Regions from separate parts of the Homo sapiens genome. Here region 1 is linked to region 2. Evidence: promoter capture Hi-C in 16 types of primary human blood cells and fetal thymus (Javierre and others, 2016). All regions are on one chromosome and are shown on one strand. Each heading gives the region's core, a stretch centred on a gene start or on the middle of the fragment in contact. The rest is flanking DNA. Distances are from core to core; before and after follow the strand shown.

What was found. Contacts are between HindIII fragments. The CHiCAGO score rates a contact against its expected background, and 5 or more counts as called.
Region 1: a contact is called between a fragment that was not itself captured here and the fragment with the promoter of FAH in region 2, in 1 of 17 cell types (activated CD4 T cells). The highest score is 5.5, in activated CD4 T cells.

Annotation. Positions count from the first base shown.
Region 1 is chr15:79,378,867-79,384,882 of GRCh38, reverse strand. It overlaps a transcript of TMED3 not described here. Among named protein-coding and RNA genes, the nearest start is that of MINAR1, 50 kb to the left of the region's middle. RefSeq lists an enhancer at 3,407-3,616 and a silencer at 3,707-3,756. The HindIII fragment of the contact is 875 bases long and covers 2,040-2,914 here.
Region 2 is chr15:80,151,683-80,157,918 of GRCh38, reverse strand. It overlaps FAH (fumarylacetoacetate hydrolase), which reads right to left and starts at 4,920. Exons shown (of 14, transcript NM_000137.4): 1 at 4,784-4,920. The coding sequence starts at 4,864. RefSeq lists a silencer at 4,932-5,491. The HindIII fragment of the contact is 7,995 bases long and covers 3,359-6,236 here.

The sequences.
Region 1 (6,016 bases), core at 1,228-3,727, 770 kb after region 2:
TCGCCCCTCTGCTGTTCATTTCTTATACAGATGAGGTCTCACTATGTTACCCAGGTTGGTCTCAAACTCCTGGGCTCGAGCGATTCTCCCACCTCGGCCACCCAAAGTGCTGGGATTACAAGCATGAGCCACCACACCCAGACTGGGTTTTTAAAAATATGTTTTATAAGGTAAAGGTCAAATTTTATTTGATTTTTCTATATGGCTACCCAATTATCTGCTATTATATCCTACCTTCTTCCTACAATCTCATCACCTACTTGAGTATACACATGGTAGACAAGAGGGGAACTTTTTGAGTTTGATTTCTCTTTGTCCCACCAGCTATACTGCCAGGGAATCACAGCATAGTCTGTGCCTCTTGGCATCGCATATGAAGCCCTTCCCTATCTAGCCCTTGCACCATTTCCAGCCTCATGTCTGACCAATAGACTCCCCCAGCTGCATAAGGCCCCTCATCATTCCCAGATGTGCCACACTCTTTCCTATTCCGACAATGATGTATATATCTTTGCCTTTACTTGTGGCATTTACACGTCTACTCATTTTTCAAGATCCTACTCAAATATTACCTCTTCCAAGAAAACTATACGAATATCCCACACTACTATTTATTTCTACCCTGTTCAGAATCCCTCCTATCCTTCAAGTCCTTTGTTTAGTATTAATCACTGCCTCGAGAGAGTTCTGGAGGTTTTGGACTGTTGAAGGAAAGGGAAGATGTACCTTATTGGGTACCTGTGACCTTGCCAATGTTTGAGAAGAAGCTTTTAGAACCTCTGAGCCAGCTCAGGTCACACCACCATCTCCATAGGAACACTGAATTTCCTCCCACAGTTTTGCTTGATGGAACATCCAGGAGCTCTTTGATGATGGGAGGTAGGTTTCTCCGATCTCTTCTCTGGGCTGAATCATGCCCCAGAAATAGGGCCATGAATTATTGGGGTCTTAGAGCTTATGCAGTAAAGGATTAACCCAAAGAAAGTTTTGGCTCTTTACCCCCAGTTTCTGGAAGGTAACATTTAAGCCCTTGGAATGTCCTGGCTTTCAAAAGTGTCTTTATAAACCTAGGACCTTGGGCCATGCCAGATAGTCTGTACTAACCATAAGATTTATGGTGAGGTCCTTGGACAACACAACATCAGCTTTATCTCTGGAGGGGCTAGAGATCAAAGTCAGTCGTATGGTGGCTAGCCATATCTATGTGACTGATTCCTCAATAAAATCTCTGGACACTGAGACTCAAGTGAACTTCCCTAGTTGGCAATACCCTAGGCATATTGTCACACATCGTTGCGGGGAGAGATAAGTGCAGTCTGTATGACTTCACTGGGGAGCGACAAGTGGGAAGCTCCATTCCTGGTCTCTCCTAGACTTTACCTTTTGTACCTTTTCTTATTGTTGATTTTCAAATGTATTCTTCTGCTCTAACAAACTGTAACCATGGGTAAATTGGCTTGCTGAGTTCTGTGACTTCATCTAGTGAAACTCTGAACCTGAGGATGGTGTGAGGGACCTTCCAAACTTTCAGAGCTTCTACTCAATACATTTCTTTTCTCCATCTAAGGGCACAAAGGATCAAATAGATATAATCTTCAACAGCCTTAAGACATTTTCCAAAACAAGATAGCAAAGGCAGCCACATTGGAAATCGGGTAGCTGGATGGTCCCTGAAGATCAATGACTATACTGATTACCACGTAAGCAATAACTGGTGCAGGTGAGAGTGGACAAGGCAGGAAGTGAAGTGCACCATGGCAGTAAAGCTGTGGGTACCTGGCGATCTACAGGCAAAGAGCCATGTCCCGTGGAGCATGCACAGGAGGTAAACAAGCAGTTGGAACAGGTAGATCCCAGATGGTGATCACACTGGAACCCTTAGTGGTGGCGTTGGTGTTGGTGAAGCACTGGGACCCTTGGAAAAGAAATAAATCGTGTTTATGCCCTTGTAATTGACTTTGTCAATGGGAATAAAGACTATATTGTGTTGGTAAGAACAATAGTATGAGATACCCATGAAAGATAATATAAAAGAAGCTTCCCTGCACCTATATCTGAAAACACTACTTCACAAGTAGATGATCTGATTGAAATTCAGGATGAGGAGTGGCAGGAAGGATAGGTGGCTGAAAAAGCCATTAGCCATACTGGTAGAAGTTCAGAGTGAAGTGGAGGACATAGAGAAAGGGATTAAGGTTTCCAGCCAGGAGTTTAGAGGGTAGAGGTAGTGAACTTCTGAGCCAAAGGAGCTGAGCACCCAGAAGAATTGTGAAGGGCAGACACAGCTTCTGGTAGCCTGGGGAAGGCCAGAGGGCCACTGTGGGATAGGTGCTGCCAGTGCAGGCCAGGCATCACTGGAAGAATGACCTCTCCCTTTGCAACAGAACTTTAGCTATGCATTCTGGCATTGGGCTCATGTGGGTATCAGCAAGTAGCAGCTCCAAGCAGGTACTACTGTCAGCCAAGAGAAGGTAGGGCTAGTCACAACTATTTTGTTTTTCAGTGAGGCAGAACACAGAGCAGAGTCTGGGGGTCCAGCCAGCTTATAGCCTCCCTAGAAAGTTCCTTCCAGGAATAATGCCTGCTAAGCTGTTCATTCCAGTTCAGTTCCTCAGTAAAGAGTCAAAACTCAACAGTACCATGAACCCATGACCTGCGCATGGCTTGCATTGTGGCCTTGATGTCTATCTCTTCCTAGGACAGGCCTGCCATTCATGTTGCTGAGGACTGCCGAGAGGATGGGGTGATCTTCATGTCCATAGCTGCAGAGCACAAAACCCAGAAGGGCAGAGACTTCTTCCTGCAAAGTCCAGAAAAATCTAAGCCCTGTTGAATAATGAAGCTCCGCTCAAGCAGCTACTTTGTACACAATGCACATGATTTTACTAATGGGGAAACTGGGGCCCCAAAAGCTTAAATTGCTTCTTCATTAGTGATAGAGCTGGTCACCTCTAGGCTGTGATGCAATATTTTTAAGTCCATATGGATACTTCTGACAGCATTAAGACCCCAGTGAGCTCTGGAAGGAAGAAGGAAGGTGCTTTGAGGACAGGAAGGGCAGCTCTGACATTGTTAAGTCAACAGTCTGAGTTGACTTTGCAATCACAGGACACACAGCCTTTTAAACCAGTGAAAGAATCAGGCAAATGCAACTGTTTATCACCCCAGGGGAGAGCAGGTAGCTCTAATAAGACCAAGCCAGGTGAGAGTGGCTCCAATATGATTTGTCTTCTTTTGTCCCTGTTCTGATGAGATACCAGGTTAAACCTGCCCTCTCAGCCTGGGCACCACTGGGCAGGGGAACAAACCTCTGTGACATTTAGCACTTGTTCTAGACAAAAGTTGCCCAAAAGTGCTAATGGTTCAGAGGAACAATTAGGAGTTTGACTACAGATCACCTGCTACCTCCTTACCGCTCCAGAGGACCTTTTAACCTTCATCCTGTTTTGCTAAGTGTGCATCTCTCAAGCTGTTCATGCTGAAGTGAGCAGAAAATGAGACTAAGAGACATTCACCTTAGCTTCTGTCTGTTGTGGGTTTGTCTCCTTTGGTTCATGGGGTCTGTGTGCACTCTGCCTTGGCTCAGGTTCATTTGTTCAAGGCTGTTAAGGTTACAGACTTAACTGGGTTTCTTTCCTGCCTTAGAGCCCACCAACAACTAGAGGATGCTGCCACCTGGTGGTAGCAATCGCCTTGCATGGGACTCTATACCAGTGAGCATCAAATTGCACTAAAAAGCTAAGATTTTGCAAGAATACCCCTTGCACAGAGACTTGGAAGGGAATCAATTTCCAGGTGCCTCGACTGTCATTCTTAAAATCTGCCTGAAAACAGATTGGAATGATCAGATACAGTCTCCTTGCCCATCTTCTCTTTAAAATGGCATTTTTGGACAAAAAAGAAAGACACATCCTTATCCATCCTGAATCTTACTATTGTGCATTGCCCTGAGCTGTAAAAAAACTGCAGGATGTCAAAGGGACAATTTAAAATACTGTCTTCAAGGACAACTCCATTAGTGATTAATCAAAGCATCATAGGCTTGTCTAGGATTTGTCTGTGTCTGCAGGTCTGGGAGATATTTCTGTGAGGCTAAGTGAGACATCGGAGCCTATGTTGGCCTGTGCTAGAGTGTTCTGAATTTGGATATATTGTAGAGTACCGCAGTGAAGGGTTTCACCTCTTCCATCCCCCAAATATTGCCAAGTAGAGCAGCACTCTTGAGGGAGAGTCCTCTGAAAACATAAAAATGAGCCCCAGAAAATATACCCTCTCTCTCTCTATATATATATATATATATAAAACTATATATATGTAACTACATATATACAACTATATATATAACTACATATATATAACTATATATAACTATATATATAACTATATATAACTATAACTATATATAACTATATATAACCATATATAACATATATAACTATATATAACTATATATATAACTATATATAACTATATATATATTTGAGACTCTCTTTATATATATATGTGTATAACTCTCTCTATATATATATAGTTGAGACAGAGTCTCGCTCTGTCGCCCAGGCTGGAGTACAATGGCACAATCTAGGCTCACTGCAATCTCCACCTCCAGGTTCAAGCGATTCTCCTGCCTCAGCCTCCCGAGTAGCTGGGATTACAGGTGTGTGTCACCACGCCCAGCTAATTTTTGTATTTTTAGTACAGACAGGTTTTCACCATGTTGGTCAGGCTGGTCTCGAACTCCTGACCTCGTGATCCGGCCCCTCCCTCAATATTTAAGTGATTGCTTTTAGACATATATATACCAAGGACCTGCACATCTTAGTGATGCTGATACTTTTAAGCATGATAAGAATGTTTTCTGAGCTACCAGAATTCTCCAGTGTACACTGACTCATTCCTGCAGATAAAAACCTTTTGTGATCTTTCAGATTTGGTGTGTTTCATTCAATAATATAGTTAAAACCTATCACATAACACATCATATTATGAAATATTTATTCCAATTATTCTGCCATTACCTTATTTCAGCTTATAAAATGTTTAATATTTTTCTCTCTTTTTAAGAAAAAACAAAATTATATGCTAGCTGTCAGACTGATTCATTTATACACTTTCATTAAATACATAAGGAAAGTTTGATCAGTATATCTAATGTGATTAATAATTTCTGACTTTATACATGGTTCTTATTTGTTAATTATTTCAAAAAGCTAGCCACCACTGTTTAATACACAAATACATACACATTTTTCAAATAAATGCCTCATATACCTAGCTTCTTAAAGAACAAATTTTAGCCACACTTTACATCGCAGTAATATTAGAGTAATTATTAGATATATATCACTTCATTATTGATTGCTCGTAGTAATATATCTTACAAGATGTGCTTTTAAGTTATTCCTTAATTGTTCTTTGGAAAATACTATTTTTTGAAACACATATTGAAAAATAAAGTCAATCCTTTCTAGTTTTATTAAATAAAGAAAGTAAACCTAATGTGACTGAATACTTTGCCAACAAGAAATTGGCTTTGCTCATTAGGTTATATAGAAGATATTTTCCATCAACTGAATAAGCTAAATCTGCAGTTCTAAGATTTCAATAATGATAAAAATTATTTACAAAGCAGGCAAGACAATTAAGACATTTGATAATATTGGACTGACAAAGGCATACTGAAAGTAAAATTTTAATTTTCCCCACTCTTATTGATTAAATATGGTGCCTGTGAGTAAAGGGGCAACAGTATAATTAATAGTCACTTAATACATGTTGGTAAAGTTTTTTGGTTATATGTTCCAGGAATATAAATAAGAAATCACTTTATGAATGGGAAACATCATTTGAAAATAAGGTGTTTTCCAACTATTTGATTTCAACAACATTGCAGAAAGACCTAATTACGTCATCAACTGATAATGATAGATAAGTATATCACTTTTGCCATATTACTTAGAATTCCAAGAATTGAGTCACAATTCTAAAACATAATTTCTATTCCCACCTCCATATT
Region 2 (6,236 bases), core at 3,671-6,170:
TCTCAGCATCCTGCCCCAGCTCCCTTGTGCCATCTCTGCTTCCAGAACTAAAAGGAAAAATAATCTGTGTTCCCTGAATGGGAAAGAAATCAAATATCCCTTGGACTGGGGGAAGAGCAGTCAGCCTGGTCCTAGCCACTTAACCTGGGCAAAGACCCCTGCAAAGTTCCCTAGGCATTACATAAATGCCTCCAGTGATGAGGAGCTTACCACCTTACCAGGATGTTGGATTATTTTCCAGGTTTCTAGGCCTTGACTAGGGTAGTTCAGTTGTGCGGTGGAGCATGAGTGCCCAACACACAGTGCTGAGGGCCAGGTGGCTTGGATTAATGAGCTCTGTTGTAGCTCAAATGGAGGAGAGCTCGGGTTGTAAGGGAGCTGCAGGAAGCCAGACTGCTCAGAACATGCAAGGCAAGTTCCTTTCTGTACCACAAAATCCCAGCATCAACAAAGATGTCTTAAATATTTGTTAAGTCCTGGTCTTTGTCCCCACAACCCTGAGCTTTGCTCGTCAACAAGAACCCGAGGGCATGTTTGCAGACTCAACTTCCCAGGGCTCTGTCCTGAGCCAGGCTTCCAGCTCTCCTGAACCACCAGCTTGGCCATTTCAGTGCCAGCGAGCTTAGTGGTGGGATTATTGGCTGGCCTTATCTCCATTGGCTGCTCACTGGGGTGGGCTGAGAAAAGATGACCATTTCTCCACGCATGTCAGCTCTTGGAATCGGGGTAGACCAGAGCCATACTCCTCATCTGAGGTCCCAGCAGAGCCTACCCTAGAAGAGGCTGCCTGGAGAGCTTAGTTACTCATTCTCAGCCCCACTGCCAACTCCCTGGGCCTCAGTCTTCCCCTCCTGAAAATGGCAAATCTGCTTTAGGCAAAGAGCTGAACCACCTGAATCCAAGTGGCTTTCCATTCAGGGAATGTGCAGGGCAGACCCTTGGACCACATCTCTGACCCTGGTCCCCACACCCCAGCTGAAGGCAAGAAGGAGTCACCACCAGTAAGCAACTTCCAAAATGGGGTCACAAGTGCAGCTGCCTGCTGCCTCAAATGCAAACAAAGCCTAGAAGCTTCAAACTTGTGCTTCAAACTATGACCTGAGGACCCAGAAAAAGTCTGAGAGAGTGAGTCCCTCTACTTTCAACCTTGGGAGTTATTTTCTTCAGCACAAAACTAGAGGGGGCTCACAGGTCAGATCCAGGATTCCTGGGCTCCAAGTCTGCTCCCTCATTCACCATCTTATCACCTTGGACAAGTCTCTGGGCCTCAGTTTCCCATCTGCAACTTGAGGGAAACAAACTAAGGAGGGAGACCGCATTTGTCTAACTTCAAGAGAATGAATGTGCATTGCCTTTGTTTTAAAATAGTTGGTCATATCTGATATAAAGTTGTCCAAAGGAAAGCATTACCCAACTCCCAGCCTGACATAGAGGGGGAAGCATGGGATTGGTGTGGGCGAAGGATTACCCAGGTGCCGAGGCAAGAGACTGAAGGCATAAACTGTAGCTATACTGCTATACAGTTGTAATACAAATTAGATATACAGATGATCATGGACAATTATCGATTATTAGTATAAACATTATTAATCATTAGTTTTTAATATTACTCTTTATTGTAGTACAATATAACCTAGGAATAACCGGTGGGTATAGGGTCAGGTACTGAAGGGACATTCTGAGAAGTGACCTAGAAGGCAAGAGGTGAGCCCTGTCACACCCGCATAAGGGCCGCTTGAGCGCTCCTTGGTCAAGCGGTAACGCCAGTGCCTGGGAAGGCACCCATTACTTAGCAGACCGCAAAAGGGAGTCTCCCTTTCCTTGGAGGAGTCAGGGAACACTCTGCTCCACCAGCTTCCTGTAGGAGGCTGGATATTATCCAGGCCTGCCCGCAGTCATCTGGAGGCCTAAACCCCTCCCTGTGGTGCTGTGCTTCAATGGTCACGCTCCTTGTCCACTTTCATGTTCCTCCTGTACTCCTGGTTCCTCTTTGAAGTTTGTAGTAGATAGCGGTAGAAGAAATAGCGAAAGTCTTAAAGTCTTTGATCTTTCTTATAAGTGCATAGAAGAAAATGCTGACTTATGCTGCCTTCCCTCTCTGCTTCGGCTACCTTAGAGGGAAGAGCCCCCGTCCCATGATCACATGACTTGCTTGACCTTATCAATCACTTGGATGACTCACCCTCCCTACCCTGCCCCCCTTGTCTTGTGTGCAATAAATATCAGTGTGCCCAGCCATTCGGGGCCACTACCGGTCTCTGTGTCTCAGTGGTAGCAGTGCCCCGGGCCCAGCTGTTCTCTCTTTATCTCTTTGTCTTGTGTCTTTATTTCTTACAATCTCTCGTTTCCGCACACAGGGAGAAAACCCGCTAAGCCCCGTAGGGCTGGACCTTACAGATTGGGAGGCTGACAGATGTGGGGATCAACCCCATATCTGCCTCTTACTGGCTGTGAGATCTGGAGCATGATGCTTTGCCTCTCTGGACCTCAGTTTCCTCATCTGTAGAATGGGGACAATAACTTCACAGTAGGTTTATTGTGAGAATTTAATTAATATCTGTAAATCTCTCACCACAAGAACAGACACAGGGTAGACGCTATTCATGCCACAAAGATTTAGAGAGCATCTTCTCAGTACCAGCATTACACAAAGGCTGCTGAGGCCCTGGGAACAGTGACGTGGTTCCTTCTCTCCAGAAGCAAAAGGAAACACAGGGTGTGGTGAGAGATAACCAAGGCTGGGCCGCAGCGGGGAGCTCATTCAGAGAGGGTGCTTAGGAGGTGACATTTAAGCTGAGTCCCAAAGAGTGAGAAGGGGCCAAGCATATAGAGAGCAGAAGGACGAGTATTCCAGGCAGAAGGAACAACATGTGCTAAGGCCTGAAGGCAGGAAGCTGCTCTTAGCACATCTCAGAGACTCAAAGGCAGCCAATGTGGCTGGAGAAAGCAGAGGCCAGGAGGCAGCAGCACAGCCAGACCACGGGGACTTTAACAAGGCACCCGGCAAAACCAGCTCCACACTACTACAACCCCGTTCTCAGAGGCCACCACCCCTACCTTCACAGAGAGCACCCCTGTACACCTTACTAGTCCATCAACCAGAAATGGAAGGAAGGCGTCTCCTGTGTCTTTGATGCCAACTCGGAGCCCAGGCAAAATCTGGACCAGAGTTGGGGTTCATAAGCATTCGCTGAATAAAAAAAAATGAATAAAGTGATGGCAGGATTCATTGTTATTCCACTCAAATTAGGAAAGGCTGACTGCTGACATGGGGGAAGGGAGGTTTTGCCTTGGCAACTAGTCTTGCCTGGCAAGGCAGCCATCACGGTTGGAATGTCCAATGCCTGCAGAGAAAGCTTCAGAAGAGGCTTGTTCAGCTGGAAGGCCAAAGGGCCAACTCTCCACCCCCAGCACTGTATCAGAGGACAGCGGAATGGGGCTCTCTCTTCCAGACATCTGTAGTGGCTGCCCTGCACATTCTGATGTTGAAACAGCGGGACATGGTGTCTGAAAACACCTAGCCACACTCTAACGGATATTAATTCGATTCCCCTGAGAAAGCAAGTCAGAGCTCCCTACTGGGGTGTGCCTGCCTCTCACAAATGTTTCTGTCTAATGGATTTGTGCTCCCAGGAAAGGTGAGGGAGGACACATCTGCCGAGGGCAAAGTGTTTGAGGAGGGCAGAGGGAGGGCTCTGTCTGCAGAAAGGTTGTTGGCCATCACAAGTTAAGATTTAATGTGCCTCAGATTGTGTCCTCCAGGGGATTGAGTGTCCACTTTCTGTATCCTTGCAACATCTGGTCAGCCCGGCCAGATGTGAAACCACAAGTTGACTCTTCTAGACCAAAGCACTTACCGCAGACAGGCCCACAAAAGGCCAGCCACTTGCATCCAATGACAAGCCATGGGGGAAGGAGGGAACCCCACTTTCCAAGAAGAAGCCAACTGCCAGGCCCCTCGTTTAGCAAACATTTCCTGATTCTGGGGTTCTATGGCTTACAGAGATGAATCAGGAGTTTACCTTTAAAGTTGGGAGCAGAAATCTAAGCCAAAAATATCATCAACAAATCCAAGGGAATCTGCTTTTCCAACCTAGGGAACCTCTTATTATCTATTTGCTGATAAACCCCCAGTTTTCAAATACTTCTTTCTACCAATCAGACTACACTGACTTAGTCAAAGTTTGTTTCCCTGCCCTCTTTCTTCTGATCAGTAGGGGAATGCCAGGGAGCCCACACCAGGAGCTGAAAGAATTTCAGCTATAGGCAGAGACACTTGCCATCTTAGATCTCACAACTCTAAGCCAAGAAACGCGCGTGCCCCTCTGACCTGCTACGCATACCGGGTTATCATTTCCCGGGTTCTAGGGTTAGGGGCTATCCAGCGAGATGAACCACCAGCCCTGACCTGGCCTCTTGGGCGAGAGAAACACACCGCAACCACCTCGGAGTAGGCAGCATGCCTGTGTGCTGCAGCTTCCGGTAACAGAATCCTGCTTGCTCTGCTTGTCTGGGAGAGTGACACGATTCATTTCATTTTGCATTTAATTCTCAGCAAACCTGCGGACAATGAGGCTGAAAAGTTAAACAACGTGCACAGCTAGAAAGTTACGAGGCGGGACTCGAGCCCATAGGCACTCTCACGGAACGAATCTTAAGAGAAAAATGGCACAAGCCTCCATCCCGCCCCTCATTCCACTCCATTCCACTCCACTCCACTCCACTCCACTCCACTCCACTCCACTCCCTCCCCGCGCCCGGACGCCAAAGCCCCACTGCTCACGTCGCCTCTGGTCGAGAAGACGCCGTAGGGCAGGTTGTGGATGGGGAAGTCGGAATCCTCGGCCACCGGGATGAAGGACATGCTGAAGAGCACCCGGCACGGCTGCGGGCCTAAGGTGGCGTGCGGAGAGCAGGACTGAACTCGGCCGCTGTGGTCAGGCCCGGCCCCGCCCCCCTGCCCGCCCCCACGGCCTGTCCGGGTGACACAGCAGGGACCCCGGAGGCTCCTACCTGACTTTTGGTCTCACCGTGAACACCCCGCCCCCGAACCCCGAGCCCTGCCCCTCCCCCCTACCCTGACCCCCGCCAGCTCCAGGTCCTCCACAGTCTCGCCCGCCCTTCCAGAGCCCCGCCCCGCCCCTGGCCCCGCCCCCGTGGGCCTCAGGTCCTCCAGTCTCTCCTCCCTCCCTGAGCCCCGCCCCTCCCCTTGCCCCGACCCCGCGAGCCCCAGGTCCTCCACAGTCTCACCCTCCCTCCCTGAGCCCCGCCCCTCCCCTCGCCCCGCCCCTCCCCTCGCCCCGCCTTGCAAGCCCCAGGTCATCCAGTCTCTCCCTCCCTCCCTGAGCCCCGCCCCTCCCCTGGCCCGGGTACCCGAGAGTCCCAGGCCCTCCAGTCTTGCCTCACTCCCCGAGCCCCGCCCCTCCCCTGGCCCCGCCCCCGTCCTGATCCCCGCCCTGTCCGCGAGTCCACGTGGGGGAGATCTGGTTCCAGCCCCCGCTCGGGGCAGCTAGCTGGTCCTACCGAGAGCAAACCCCAGCTTAGCATTTAAGGCTCTGCCCTGCATGACTCCAGCCTCGCTCGCCCCGGCTGCTGCCCTGCTCTTCAGCTCAACAGAACTCTTGTCCGCTTCCTGGAAACACTTTCTCCCCAAGAGCTGCTCCCTGAGCTTCAGAAGAACACCCAGTCGCGTCCTTTCTGCCTTCATACCATGATGCTCCGTCCAGCTATGACACTTCCACTTGTATGTCAGAGAAGGGGACAGTTAGGCCTGTTTGGAAGGCTTCAATTAATGAGAATTAATATTCTAAAAAATATAACTCACCTGTTTCACATGCCAGTAGTAAAATGACGTTGACAAGATGCTCAACCTTGGACAAGTTACTTAAACTTTCTCTACCTCAGCTTCCTTCTCTGTATAATGTTGATGATAATAGTTCCTACTTCACAAAGTTGATATAAGAATGGAATGAATTAATATTTGTGAAGCACCTAGAATAGTGCCTGGCATATACAGGTTATGTGTGTGTGGAAAGAGAGAGAAGGGAGGGAAAAAGAGGAAAGGAGGGGAGGGGGATAAAGGAAAGGAAAGATAAAAGAGAAATAGGAGAAGAGAGAGAGGGAGAAAGAAAAGAAGGAAGACAGGAAAGAAGGGAAAGGCAGACTATCTTAGGGTGGGTTCAAGGTGTTATCTAATCACTCATGTGCAGTCAGCTGCAGTTTTTTGAGACCATGCC